Regions from separate parts of the Homo sapiens genome. Here all the other regions are linked to region 3. Evidence: promoter capture Hi-C in 16 types of primary human blood cells and fetal thymus (Javierre and others, 2016). All regions are on one chromosome and are shown on one strand. The core of a region is centred on a gene start or on the middle of the fragment in contact, and the rest is flanking DNA. Distances in the headings are between cores, read along the strand shown.

What was found. Contacts are between HindIII fragments. The CHiCAGO score rates a contact against its expected background, and 5 or more counts as called.
Region 1: a contact is called between a fragment that was not itself captured here and the fragment with the promoter of PRR5L in region 3, in 1 of 17 cell types (fetal thymus). The highest score is 5.9, in fetal thymus.
Region 2: a fragment that was not itself captured here is called in contact with the fragment with the promoter of PRR5L in region 3 in 1 of 17 cell types (total CD8 T cells); the score reaches 6.8 in total CD8 T cells.

What each region holds. Positions count from the first base shown.
Region 1 is chr11:36,737,634-36,742,510 of GRCh38, reverse strand. The region is part of intron 3 of LOC107984326 (a long non-coding RNA gene); the gene reads right to left. Among named protein-coding and RNA genes, the nearest start is that of RAG2, 140 kb to the right of the region's middle. The HindIII fragment of the contact is 283 bases long and covers 2,780-3,062 here.
Region 2 is chr11:36,668,524-36,673,223 of GRCh38, reverse strand. LOC107984325 (a long non-coding RNA gene) reads right to left here and starts at 2,335. Exons shown (of 3, transcript XR_001748186.1): 1 at 1,702-2,335; 2 at 1,139-1,226; 3 at 1-37. The HindIII fragment of the contact is 1,775 bases long and covers 1,298-3,072 here.
Region 3 is chr11:36,293,856-36,298,208 of GRCh38, reverse strand. PRR5L (proline rich 5 like) reads right to left here and starts at 1,921. Exons shown (of 9, transcript NM_001160167.2): 1 at 1,771-1,921. The HindIII fragment of the contact is 2,178 bases long and covers 368-2,545 here.

The DNA.
Region 1 (4,877 bases), core at 1,672-4,171, 440 kb before region 3:
TCTAATTAGATGGGATCACCAAGCCAGGGTTCTCAGTGCATTGTGCTGTGTGGTTTCACCTAGAACAGGATATGGATAGTGCAGAGGTAATAGGCATACCTAGCACAGACTCCCAGCACTTTTTAGTAGAAATGTAATAAGCATGTATGTAATTTTAAAATTTTAATAATCACATTTAAAATGTAAAAATAAACAAATGAAATTAATTCTGTTAAAATGTTTTAACCCAACATATCCAAAATGTTAACTCAATGTGTAATCAGTATAAAAAGCATTGGTGAGATATTTTACAACCTTTTGTGCTAAAGTCTTCAAAGTCAGTGTGCATTTTATACTTACAGGACATCTTAATTGGTACACTAAATGTTCATCAGAAAAATCAGAAATAGTTGATCTATATTTAAAGTATACAAAATTTATAACTAAAAAAGACCCACAGACCCAAAGTTGTTCTAAACATACTTAAAAGTTTTCTAATAATGGAATAAAATATCCGTTTTAAATGAAAATGAATTATAATTAAGTTAAAAATTTAGTTCCTTGGTAGCCTTAGCCACATTTCAGGGGCACAATAGCCACATACGACTAGGGGCTACATTTTGGACACAGCAGGTCTAGATGGAGACCCAGAATCTGGCCTCTTCTACTCCTTTGAGACTCCCCTCAATATCAGCAGAGCACTGTCTAGTACAGACACCCACAGAGTATAGCTGATGGAAACTGTCCAAGTTAGAATTGCTCAAATCTAATTGCTAACTTCTGGGCCCTTAGAAGTTCCATGTAAATGTTTTTCTTTAACAAATTACATCATTTTAAATGCATTCAAGAGGCTTGTTAAAGGAATCCTATAATCTCTTAACTCATTCATCAAATAAATCACCTTTCAGTCATTTGTTTTGTTTTGTTATTTCAAAAAGAAAAAAAGATTTGCTTATATCAGATTTATTTTAAGCAAGGCAGGGGCTTACAGAAAACCCACTGAAGTCCATTCAACAAATGAATAATCTGAGAAGCCATAAGTCACACTCCACCCATGGGAATCTAAAGGGAGTTTTGCAAAAATCCATAACAACATAAACCTAAATGGTTCTGGTTCTGTTTGACTGATCCTGGTTGCACTGTTTAAGTGTGCTGGTACTCCAGGGCTGCTGTGAGTGATGGAAATCATGACCAAAGTTTGGCTTATTTCACTTAACATAGTATCTTCTGGTTCCATTCACATTGCTGCAAATGACAAGATTTCTTTCTTTTTATGGCTCAATAATATTCTATTGACCACTACACATGGTATGCACATATCAAAATATCACATGTACTCCAGAAATATGTACAATCCTTATGTATCAACAAAAAAAAATGACAACAACAAAACACGTTAGTCAATAAGCTGACAGCCTGGAGCTCTTTTCAACAGATAGCACTGTATTCAAAAGGACTTCTCCACGACTCCACAAATCTAGTTTCCACAACAATTTCTGAAATTTGATGCCTTTATATATGCAAGTTACATTTTAAAGTTGGCCTATAAATACATAGACAATTTTGACTGAATGGAATTATTTGAACCCTCATTTGTTCAATCAAATAAGCATTTGAATGTTTAGTATCAGCCAGATGAGCTGTTCCTTTGTTCATTCACTCATGTATTTCTCAAATCCTCATTGATTCCTATCAACACTATCAGGTGCCATGCCAGGGAGCTAGAAACACAAAGAAAAGCAAGAAACAGAAATAGATCCCACCCTTTAGGATTCATTGACCTCACAGTTAATTATGAAAGTCAGATATATACATAACCACAAAATAGTGAGATTACATACTATTAAAAATACATAAAATTCTGCATCAGGAGGATAGAGAGGAAGAGAACTGAGGAAGATTTTTGAATGGAGATACTCCTGAGATGGGTGTAGAAAGCTGGGTAGCAGTCACCAGGCAAAGGTGAGGAAGGGCATGGGGAATGAATATTCCTGAAATGGGAACAAGAGCTGCACAGGTGCCTCCTACCTGGTCTCCCTCCTTCCACTCTTACCCCACTACAGTCTGTTCAACAGTCACACAGCTATCAGCATGATCCTTGTGAAATACCAATCAGATTCCATCACTCCCTCATCTCAAACTTGCAATAATTTCCTCTCCCACCTGCAATAAAATCCAAAGTCTTGGTCATGCCTTCAAGGCCTTACGTGATGGGCTCCTTGGTATATTAGAGACCTCCCTTGGTTCCACGTCCTCCCAGCCACACTGGCCTCCTTGATGTTCTTCAAACATTCCAGGCAAGTTCTCATCTCAGGGCCATTGCAAAGTGCCTTCTCTGGCCATCTCAAATAAAATAGAACCCTGCTGTCACTTTCTGCCCCTTTTCTCTGCTTTATCTCCCTGCACAGCACTCAGGACTCGGACAGTACATGGTCTATGTAGCTATTTGCCTGTGCATTGTCTGACTTCTCCACTAGAATGCAAGTGCCATGAGGGCAGGCCTTGATCTGTTTTGTTCACAGCTATAGCACTAGTGCCTAAGACAGTACCTAGCATATGGTGGGCTCCCCCAAAGTATTTTTAGGATGAAGAATTAAATGAGGCTGGAAAATATGCATATTTCAAGTGCTGGCAAGTATCCAACATGGCTACAACATGGGAGTGAGGGGATAGGGGGCCAAGGTAAGAGCCACTGGAAATGAGGTTGGATGGGTGCTCAGTGACCAAGTAATAAAGGGTGCTGTACTCCTGGCTAAGAGTTTGGGCTACATTCTGAGGACAACGGGGAGCCAGTGAAGCTTGTAAGGAAGGGCATGGTACATGCAGGTCTGCTTATTTAAAAGAGAAATCAGCTTGCCATGCAGTAGATAAATCTGAGAAGAGCTTCAGGCAAAAAGGTCTGTTGGGATACTTTCGCAGTCACCTGTTTCTTCAGCTTTAAAATGCAGATAATAACACAATCTTAGTCACAGGCTGCAGTGATGACTAAGGGGGTTGATGTACATAAAGTACGTAGCACAGGACCTGGCACATAGGATGCTATCAATAAATATTATCTATTACCACCAACATTTAGGGAAGCTTGAAGGATGATATCTGTGCTTCTGCTCAGATGACTGTGTGGAAGGTGCTGCTGCCTTTGATCTCAATATAAACTATAGAAATAAGAACTCAATTGTGGGAACACAGAATGAATTCTATTTTGGGCAAGTGCAGTTTGAAATAGCTGTGGGATATCCAGGTGAGATCTGTGGTATGCAGTCTGATATAAGGGTCTAAAGCTCAAAAGGGAAGTTTAAACCAAAGCTCAAGATTCAGAGGAATCCCTTCCTTTACAAGCAATTGTCCTGGTCCCTTGTGAGCAAACTCTGAATCCAAAGTACTCAAAAGTAAACTCACTAGAGTAAAAAGCCCCAAGAAGAAACCATCATATAGAGCTGAAAATACCACTGCAAGAATTGACTATAATTCTGAGCCCCTCAGGACCCCTAGCAATGTTCATATAGTCCTTGTTTGCATCCTCTTTGAGCACACAGAAAAGAGCTTCATATGCTTATCACATTTACCACATCCTTCTACAAGTCCTCCAATTTCCTATTTTCCAATGTGCCCCTAAAAGAAAAGGCTAAATAAGCTCCAGAAGTCTGTACATTATAACTGACAGACCTCTTAGCTCTGAAGGCATTTTTTTCTGAGCTCAATGAATTTCAAAACAGTGTTCCACTTCTACCCCTGCTTCAAGTGTCTGAGAATACACGTGTGAAGTATAATGTCAAGTCCTTGGGGATGTGGCTCCCCAGAGTTATCTGGGGCTAGAGATATAAGAAGAATAGGAAGTACAGAAATGGAGCTGGCTCTGCAGCTAGTACAGCAAAAATGGCTTGAGGTTTACTTACAAACAATCGACATTGGTGCCTTTGAAAGGGAAGTGGAACTAGCTTTGATAGACATGCATTCTTTCACTTATTCATTCAACAAACAGCTATTGAGGATGTAATATACCTGCCAGGTACTGTGCCAATACAGAGGAAGTAACAGTCAACAAGAAAGATTTGATTCCTCATGAAGCTTCGTGGCTTCAAGGGTTTCCTGTTTGTCAGAACCTTAAGGATATCTAAAATGTAAAGCAAACCTTCTTAATTTTCATTCATTCATTTACTCATTGAACACATATTTATCAATGGTGCTGTGCTGGCCTCTGGAAGTCACAATGTTCACTAAGACAAGGCAGTTACAATTCAGTTTAAATGTCATGGGAAGGCAAGTACTGTGTGCCAGTGGAGGCTGTAGGAAGGGCCCTGTGATAGCATAACTTGTCCACAAATTATCTGATACTCCTCTCCATTGAGGGGAAATGTCTATGTCCCCTCCCCTTGAATCTAGGCTGGTTCTGACACTGTGCTTACCAGTAAAATATGACGGAAGTGATGCTTCACCCAGACTGTAAAGAAGTAGCAATATTCTTTCTTAGAATACTTGTTCTAGGGGAAGCTAGCTCCCATGTGAATAGATACATCCTGAGAGTACCATGTTGTGAGGAACCTCAAGCTAGCTTAGAAAAGGATATGGGGAAAGAGAGGCCAAGCAAGCTTTAGCTATTCCAGTCATTCCAGCCAGGTGCCAACATCTGAGTAAAACAGCTATCTTGGATATTTTATGTTGGATTGAAAGTCCTCCATGGATAGCATTTAGTCTGAGACCCAAAGGATGAGAATGATTTTGATATACAAGGACCAAGTGGAGGATTATTCCAGGCAGCGGAGTGGGATTATACAAAGATCCAGAGTTGGCGAAGCTCCTGGAGTGTTCAAGGAGCTGAGAGTAGGTTTTAAAATGGTGGTATAGAGGTGAGCTGGCTACATTATCATCAACCCCCACAGAAAACCAAAAATATATAT
Region 2 (4,700 bases), core at 936-3,435, 370 kb before region 3:
GGCTCTGTCTGCAGCACCATTTGGGGTTTGATTGCTTCTAGGTGAAAAGAGATAAATTTTACAAGGAGGTTTAAAATATAGGATTAGAATATGAGTATCGAGATTACCACTGTTAATGGAGGGCCTATAGACCATAACTATGACAGTAGAGTTTGATACCTGTTAGTTACACCAATGGATTGTAATACCAGTTTGCCTCCACTAGATGTCGCTGTACATAATCAGAAACATTCATATAAAAGTAACATTCCTTTTAGGAAAAGTGGCATTGGATTGGGTGGCTAGAATAACTTTAGTGTTAACCTTGGCTACATTTTTCCTGCAATTATCAATCCTTTCATGACTTCCACAGAAAATCTCTTTCCTTTATAACCTTTGCATAACCAGGATGTGACATATTACCAAACCCAATAAGAAGTTCTAGCAAACTCAGTGATAGTAAAACTTTCATGCTTCCCTTTTGTTGGCAGCTATTATCCCTACTATAAGGATAATAATTAAGCAAAAAATATTGCAGCAATGGAAACTCTCCGTCCAATATTTCAATTAAAAGGTGCTACCGGCCAGGCGTGGTGGCTCATGCCTGTAATCCCAGCACTTTAGGAGGCCGAGGTGGGCGGATCACCTGAGGTTGGGAGTTCGAGACCAGCCTGACCAACATGGGAAAACCCCGTCTCTACTAAAAATAAAAAAGTAGCCGGGTGTGATGGCGCATGCCTATAATCCCAGCTACCAGGGAGGCTGTGGCAGGAGAGAATCGCTTCAACCCGGGAGATGGAGGTTGCAGTGAGCCGAGATCCCGCCATTGCACTCCAGCCTGGGCAACAAGAGCGAAACTGAGCCTCAAAAAAACAAAACAAAACAAAACAAAAAACAGTGCTACTGTGTATAGCTCTACTACAAATAGTAGAGTGAGTAGAGCAATTCCTGCAAGTGTGGTGTAAGTAGATAATTTCCATCTAAAATTTTACTTGCTAAGATATAGAATTTCCCTTTGGGGATCTATAAAGTTCCTTGGTTCTATTTCCCTAAACAAAGAAACCTCTGAGTTATGGGCACCCTATTCACTCTCATTACCTGGCAGAATTTACAGGATAATTGCCCAGAACTAGCATATTGATCTAGATTTTCACATTACCTATGCCTTTTTGTTTCTTCCAAGCTGCAGGAGATCACCACTTGATTCACAGGAATAAGCAGGGTTAGTCTAAAATGTAGGCAAAAAGCTGAAAAACAATTAATGAGACTATGATTTAATGACAAATGTATGATAAGCTTTGGAGCATAATGATAAGCTTTAGAGCATAGTTTCTCTCTCTAGTCCCCATTTTTGGTAAAAGCAAATTATGATAGTATTGTGTTGTTTGTAGAATAAACTTTAGTTTTATATTTGGCCTGATTATTTGCATAAAGTACAGTAAGAATAATTATTTCTATGTAAGCCTTTTGGATTGGCTTTGATGGCACTCTGTTTCAAAAGGAATCTCAGATAAGACCTCTTAAAGCCCAGCCATGAGTTTTTATCCTGTGAGTCCCAAGATAAACTTGGAGCTCCTGGACCTGTTAGAAAGTGACATTCTTTACTGACCACAGATTAGGAACCCTGTGCGGGGACTGTGTAGACAAGGGATGAGGCCAGTTCTCCCCAAGAGGCTTTTATCGGCACTGGAAGTAAAGATAGACTCTTAAAGGGAAGCATACCCTTTCGGTCAAAGCCTTGGTAAAATAACTAGCTTTTCCAGTTGTGTCCTGTTGAAAAAGAAAAATGGATCTTATTGCACTGATGCAAACAACTATATTTCCATAAGTTAAGAGTACTCACAGGCAGTTTCCAACTTCTAGAGGAACCAGGCAGACAGAAACAAACGTGCTCCAAATTTTGTTTGCAGGAGTATACCTTACTCAATTATTAAAGGCCATAAATAGTTTAAAATAAGTTTTCTTAACTCTGAAAAACAAAACAAGGATCAGCAACATTCCAAGTAAAAGTCAAAAAGGTTGCTTTAACTTTCTGAGTGCAGTCCATTTAGTTAACTCTTGTATTGCTTGACATTCGTGAACATTTCAGTTCTTCATGAGTCCCACACATTCTTTCTCTATTCCAATGTTACAATCTTCAAGGCTATTAAAAACTCACATTTGAGAACACCTGTTCAAGTTTTATAGCTTGATTATAACCTATCTTTTAAGAAGGAACAAAGCAAGACAAAATGGTCTTTGAATGACAAAATTTCCAGGATAGTTACAGTTAAAAACATGACTGACAGGCTGGGCATGGTGGCTTATGCCTGTAATCCCAGCACTTTGGGAGGCCAAGGCAGGCTGATCACGAGGTCAGGAGATCGAGACCATCCTGGCTAACATGGTGAAACCCCGTCTCTACTAAAAATACAAAAAATTAGCCAGGCATGGTGGTGGGTGCCGGTAGTCTCAGCTACTCAGGAGGCTGAGACAGGAGAATGGCATGAACACGGGAAGTGGAGCTTGCAGTGAGCCAAGATCACGATACTGCACTCCAGCCTAGGCAACAGTGTGAGACTCCATCTCAAAAAAAAAAAAAAAAAAAAGACTGACAAAGAAATTTAGTTATCTCCATGGCTTATAACTTTACCCCTAATTACTATTGATAGCATATATTTAGACATTAAAATTTTAGAAATCCCATACAATTTTGGAACATATGTTAGTATTATTCATCAAAATATAACTTAAAGAAGATTGGACATCGTTTTGGCAATTTCATGTGACAAAACATGTCAAATAATCCTGTTCACCTCTTTTCTGAATGTTTCAGGGGCCCTCTGAACCATCCAGAAAGCCAGGCATCAGGAAAGACAATTTTGAAACTTAAAGTTTGATTTTTGGGTGCCTGTTAAATGTTAGAGGTTTAAAACACTTGATGTTATGAAATAGAATTCCAAATTGCCATAAATTATTTATTTTGCCAAAACGATGACTCAAAAAGCAAAAATTTTTATTATCCTTTATTATTACATGAAAATCCTGTTTAAGCAAAATTTTACCCTTGCATTAATTTACTGATATCAATCCCAATTTCTTTAAATGGAAGCTTATAGATGATTCCATCTAATCTTAACCAATTTGACCATGAGGTGAAATCTTTACAAGCCCTTTATAACCTCTTTTACTAACGGGCAGATTAGTGTCTTAAGACACCCTTGTTGTGCTTTTATTTCAATGCTCAATTTATGAAAAGACCATGTAATATGCTTTTGAATTTAGTTAGGTTTACACATTTTTGCAAGATTAATTTTTACAATCTTTCCACAACTTACTTAAACATTTAGCTTTATCTTATTAAATGTAAGATAATCCCTTATTCCTGGGCAAAATTTGGATTTCCATGCTTTCTTATAATCTTTTACTAAAAAACACATTTCACTGTTTTTATATGCCTTGAATGTAAAACTGTTTAATGATCTCAAATACATGTTGCACTCTTAACTCTTAGCAACTTTTATTTTTGGTGAAAAGCCTGGTTAGTAAGTGTTTTTAATTGTTGTTGTGTTTCTTGAGACAGAGTCTTGCTGTCGCCCAGGCTGGAGCGCAGTGGCACGATCTCAACTCACTGCAACCTCCACCTCCTGGGTTCAAGCAATTCTCCTGCTTCAGCCTCCCTAGTAGCTGGGATCACAAGCACCCGCCACCATGCCCAGCTAATTTTTGTATTTTAGTAGAGACAGGGTTTCACCATGTTGGCCAGGCTGGTCTCGAACTCCTGACCTCAAGCAATCCACCTACCTAGGCCTCCCAAGTGCTGGAATTACAGGCATGAGCCACCGCACCCAGCCAGTAAGTGATTTTAGTTATGTACCAGCTTAAATATTAAAGTCACACGAACTAAAAAATATTTCAGTGCTTATTTTTTCTTTAAGCCAATTAATTGGAGCTCTTTTTATAGACATCACACAAAACACATACACAGCGACACAGACAGAAGATTCAGCACTTGTAAGATTTTTATTTGACGCTTTCATAACTGGATTACTGGCTTCAGGGTGGAGCCCTTGGAGGAACAGGGCCGGGATGGCATGCATCTTTAGGGACTAATAAGCAAGCACAGCCACAGGTAAAGACAGATCTGGAAAATTAAGGATGCCTTTTTATGCTGGATTTTTGGATCCCCAAAAGGAGGGAGAGCCATCTTTTAAAGAGTGTATTTCTTACTTAATTATTACACACCAAAGCTCTCTCCTAATGTGAAGTAATTTGATACCCCCAAAACTCAAAATGGCCAGATAACACAAGGCAAAACAGAACAGAGCCTTTGATTTTGAGAGGGAAGTATCTGCTTTTAATTCCTGGGGTTTCATGAGGAAAACAGAGGTTTTTTTCCCAAAACAATGTCTGTGGCACCTCCTCTGTTTTCCCACGGAGTCCCATGCTACCAGAAGTTATCTTAGGGCCTCTCATGTATGCATTAAGTGTGGCAAGACAAAAAACGGAGAAAAATAATTCAGTAGACTGAGAAGAAAAAAACCTTTTTCCAGAAAAACAAGATCCAAGAAGCGAAAACCATAAAGGCCTTTTAAATATACCTATAACTTGAATATCCACTTTTGATTAAGCTGAGTGCTGTTTAAGAAAATCCTTTTAAATCCCTTGTTACTCTACTTTAGCCACGCCAAGCAGTTAAGATTTTTCAGCTTTTGAACTTTACAAAAAGTAACCTCACAGGT
Region 3 (4,353 bases), core at 672-3,171:
GACTGCTGGTTTAAGCCCCTCAGTCTGTGATATTTTGTCATGGCAGTCCCAGCAAACTAATACGGCACTGCTTAGATGCCAGGGAACTAAGGAAGGAGTCTTATTAGGCAACCAGCTTCAAGGGACCAGCAACTCAGAGATCCCCAAAGATGAGAAATAATGGTGCTCTCTGAAGTATCCACAAGATTGTGCCTAGAGAGAAAGAACTAGGTTTACACACCCACCAGAACCTGCCACTGAAATGCCAGCTTGCCACAGCATTAACCAAGTACGGACTTCCAGCTCCTTTCCTGCCTCTTCTCTTTTCCCCTTCCCCCTGCCAGGAGTCAGAATCATCAGTAAGCCAGAGGAGAGAAGGATGGAAGCTTAACGTGGGAAATGAGAAGCCAACCACAGACCCCCTTTCCAAGCTGCAGGCCCCACTGGAGGAGGGAGAAAAGTCTCCACTGGGAACCAAATTCAAAGATCTGGCTGATTCCCTGGGACTGGACATCCCAATTGCTGAATGAGGCTGTGCTGGAACTAAAAGCGACTTAAGAACTTTTGATTCCTGAAGGGGGCCCATAAGAGTTGTGGACCTACCTTAATTTTCATCCCAGGGCAAGGGAAGAGGGAGGACCTGCTGAAAAAAATTAGGGACAATGATAGGCAAAAATAAAGTTTGCTTCCATAATATACCATGAGTCCTGTGTATTTGACGTATGTTCTCTTACATATGAGGCAACTTAGCCTGGTCTCTGGCCAAAAAAGAGATACCACTCATTGAGCAATTCTTACCCTTTCAAATTCCTTCACTGTCGTCATTGAGCAATTCCATCTTCTTCAAGCAAGACAAAAGCTGATGCCAATAGAAAAATCATTTAAAATAAACAAACGAAAAAATTCCTTAAGCTGTCAACTTGGGTGCAGATGTTCTATGAAGCCAGAAACTGAATGTCACCCTCTATACACCATGACCTAGAGAAGCAGAATAACTCCAGACCAGCAGGGCTGGGCGGGTCTAAGATTCCCATACTACTTAAGAGAAAACTGAATTCAAATCCAGGCTCTGCCATTTAACAACTGTGTGACCCCGGGTGAATGACTTAAATTATCCGTACTTCAATTTCCTCATCCATAAAATAGAGATCATAAAGTATCTATCTGATGAAATAGCTGCAAAACAGTTAGAATGCTGCCTGGCACAGGGCAAAGGACTCACAATACACATAGCTATCATCATATATCATTGCCTCTCAAAGTGAAATATTGTGATGACCTTGGTTTATTAGCAGGATGTTGTAAAAAAAAATGCTTTACAAGGGGCATGATGACGAAAAGCGCAGATTCTAGAACCCGACTCCCTGGGTTTGAAAGAAGCAAGAATCTGAGGCATGTTGTATAAGGGTTTGCTATCATTACTATTCATTCAATGAGAGACATACAGTAATAGGTATACATATGCAATACATAGAGAAAGAGCTTAGTACTAGCAGCTATTATTAAGGCAACAGCCACCTCAGTAAATCTACATGGGCCATGAAGACCCTGGTCACCCAGAGATATCAGAGGCACTGAACAGGGCCAGACAGACAGAGGGTATTTTTCTAACTGGGAGGCTGCTGAACTTGACCTCTGTTGCTTTTCATTATTTATTTAACAGCAGATGGTGGCTTTCAAGAAAATCGGATGTCTTGAAGCCAGAAACCCATCCTCCTTGGGCTGGATACTCAGCCATCCCCTGCAACCCCACCCCCTAGCCCCAAGCTCTCATTGTCTCTCTTGTGTTACCTGGTCTGGTTTCTTCTTCCAGGGCAGGTCCCACCTTGCTGGGGAGAGGTGAATGACCATGGCCTTCCAGCCTCCCGAGAAGGGGATGTTCCAACGGGCGCAGAGATCTCTGGGCCTGGCTTGCCACTCACTGACCTGGGGCCTGAAGACTGACAGAGAAGCAGGCAGAAAATATAAAAAGCTGATACCCCCTGCAGGAAATCATTGTTTAGCCCATTCCAGACTAAAAAAACAAGTGCAACATTGGAGAAAGGAGGGTAAAGTGTCATTCGGGGCCATTGTTACAGCGGCTGCTCTGTGTGGTGGGGAAACAAAGCAGGCCTGTGTATGTGAGGACAATGCTGTTGTGTTACTAGCTGCTTCTGTGTTACTCCTGGGGACAGGAGGATGAGAAACGAGGCCACAGTGTCTTCCCTGGTGGACTTCACTCATCATAGTAGCCAGGCCAATCAGAGCTGGGAGAGGAATTTTGGACATTTAGCCCATGGCATTATGTAATAAGGGTCAGGGGACGTGCCTTCAGGTGTGACCACCTGCCTCTTTGTTAGTCTTCTATACATGAGAGATCACAAATGTCCCTCTCCTTTTCTCTTACTTGCTTTCAGAAACTTACCCCAAGTTAGAGCTGAAAAGAATGAGACATATCATTTCTCTAAACACAAATGTCATCCACTTCAATGCCTAACTTTTGTGATGGGACATCTGGCTGGGACTAAACCTCAGCCATGCAGCACGTTAGCAGCAGTTGGCAAGACTAGATGAATATTATAAAGCTTGCACCCACTGAACCCCCATAATGAACCAGACACTAGGTCATGAGCAACCTTGCAAAATGACCTCATTCGCTCCTGACTTCAAATTCTGACTCTGCAACTATTACCCATGGACTGTGAGCAAGTGTTTTCTCTGGGTGTTAGTTTTCCCATCTGTAAACCGGGATTATGATTGGGTTCCTAGGAGGATTAAATGAATTAATATATGCAAAACTCTTAGAACAGTGGCTGGCCCATAAAAGTGATCAAGAACCACAAATCACAAATTAGATGCCCACATTACACCTGAAACTTGCTTGTACTCATGAGGAGATGGTATGGGGATGGCTGGAAAGCCAGGATCCCAAGTGTCTGTATTTAGCCCTGTTACCTACTATGGCCTAAGTTCACCCTGTTAGGTCCCTGAAGGAATTGGGCACTAATAAATATTCTCAAGTATGAGACAGGTGACAAATGTGTGGAGAGGGCCCACTGTGATGCAACAGTGTGTGGCGGGAACTGTGGGGATTTGAAAGCTCACACCAGTCTTCAGAGGGCAGCCAGGGCTCAGCCTCAGCCAAATACTGCAATGCAGAAAGGTGGAAACAGCATGGTTGGGCCTGCACATTTTTAAAGAAAAGCCAGAAGGCTGGATTTTTTATGTCGAGTTTTCCAATTTTGAAACACTGTGGACCAAACACAACATTGTTAATGCAATGTGAGCCCTAGATCATGCAGTTTGTGATGCCTGATCTGGAAATTTCCAGATTTCCAGCATTTCCAAGCCAGTGCAACCCTGCTGACACTCAGAGCTTTTGTCCCCAACTTGCGCTACGGTCTGAGTGTATGCGTCCCCCACAAATTCATATGCTGAAATCTTCACCCCCAGGTGATGGTATTTGGAGGTGGGACCTATGGGGGGTGATTAGGTCATGAGTGTGGAGCCCTCATGAATGGGATTAGTGCCCTTATAAAGAGGCCCAAGAGAGCTCCCTTGCCCACAGCCACCATTTGAGGACACAGTGAGAAGACACCATCTGTGAACCAGGAAACCGTCCTCATCAAACATAGAATCTGCCAATGCCTTGGTCTTGGACTTCCCAGCCTCCAGAACTATGAGCAACACATTTCTGTTGTTGATAAAGCCACCCAGTTTATGGTATTTTGTTATATTAGCCCATATGGACTAAGACGACTGGTGAGCTGATCAGGCCACGTCAAAGCCACAAAGGGGGCATAAAGTCAAAAAGATTGATCAGCCCTTTCCCCCTGCAACCCACCCTCATCTCTGGACTGAGACAAAGGTGAGGAAAAGGGAAACTAGGGGAATAACAGGAGGGTGGCAAGGGCTCTCCTTAAAGGACTGCAGGACCCTGGGCCTAATCCACCTCCTGCAGGCATTCCTCTGACAAAGAAGGCAGCCAGGACTTAGTAGTGAAACCAAAGGGGAGAATAGGAGTTTATTTAAGCTTCCATAACCTTCATCAGTTACCTCAAATGAACCAAAGTAGCGTAAGTGACAAAATGTGTTTGCTATGCAAATGCACCTTAAAAACAAGACTGCTCACAATGAGATACCACTTCATACCCGCTAAGATTGCTATAATCAAAAAGACAGAACCAGTTACAAAATGTGTTTGATATACCAATGCAACTTCAAAACAAGACGGCTCACAATGAGATACTACTTCATACCCACTAGGATCACTATAATCAAAAAGGCAGAGCCAGATGCAGTGGCTCCCATCTGTAATCCCAGCTACTCAGAAGGCTGAGGCAGGAGGATCGTTTGAGGCCAGGAGTTTGAGACCAGCCTGAGCAACATAGCAAA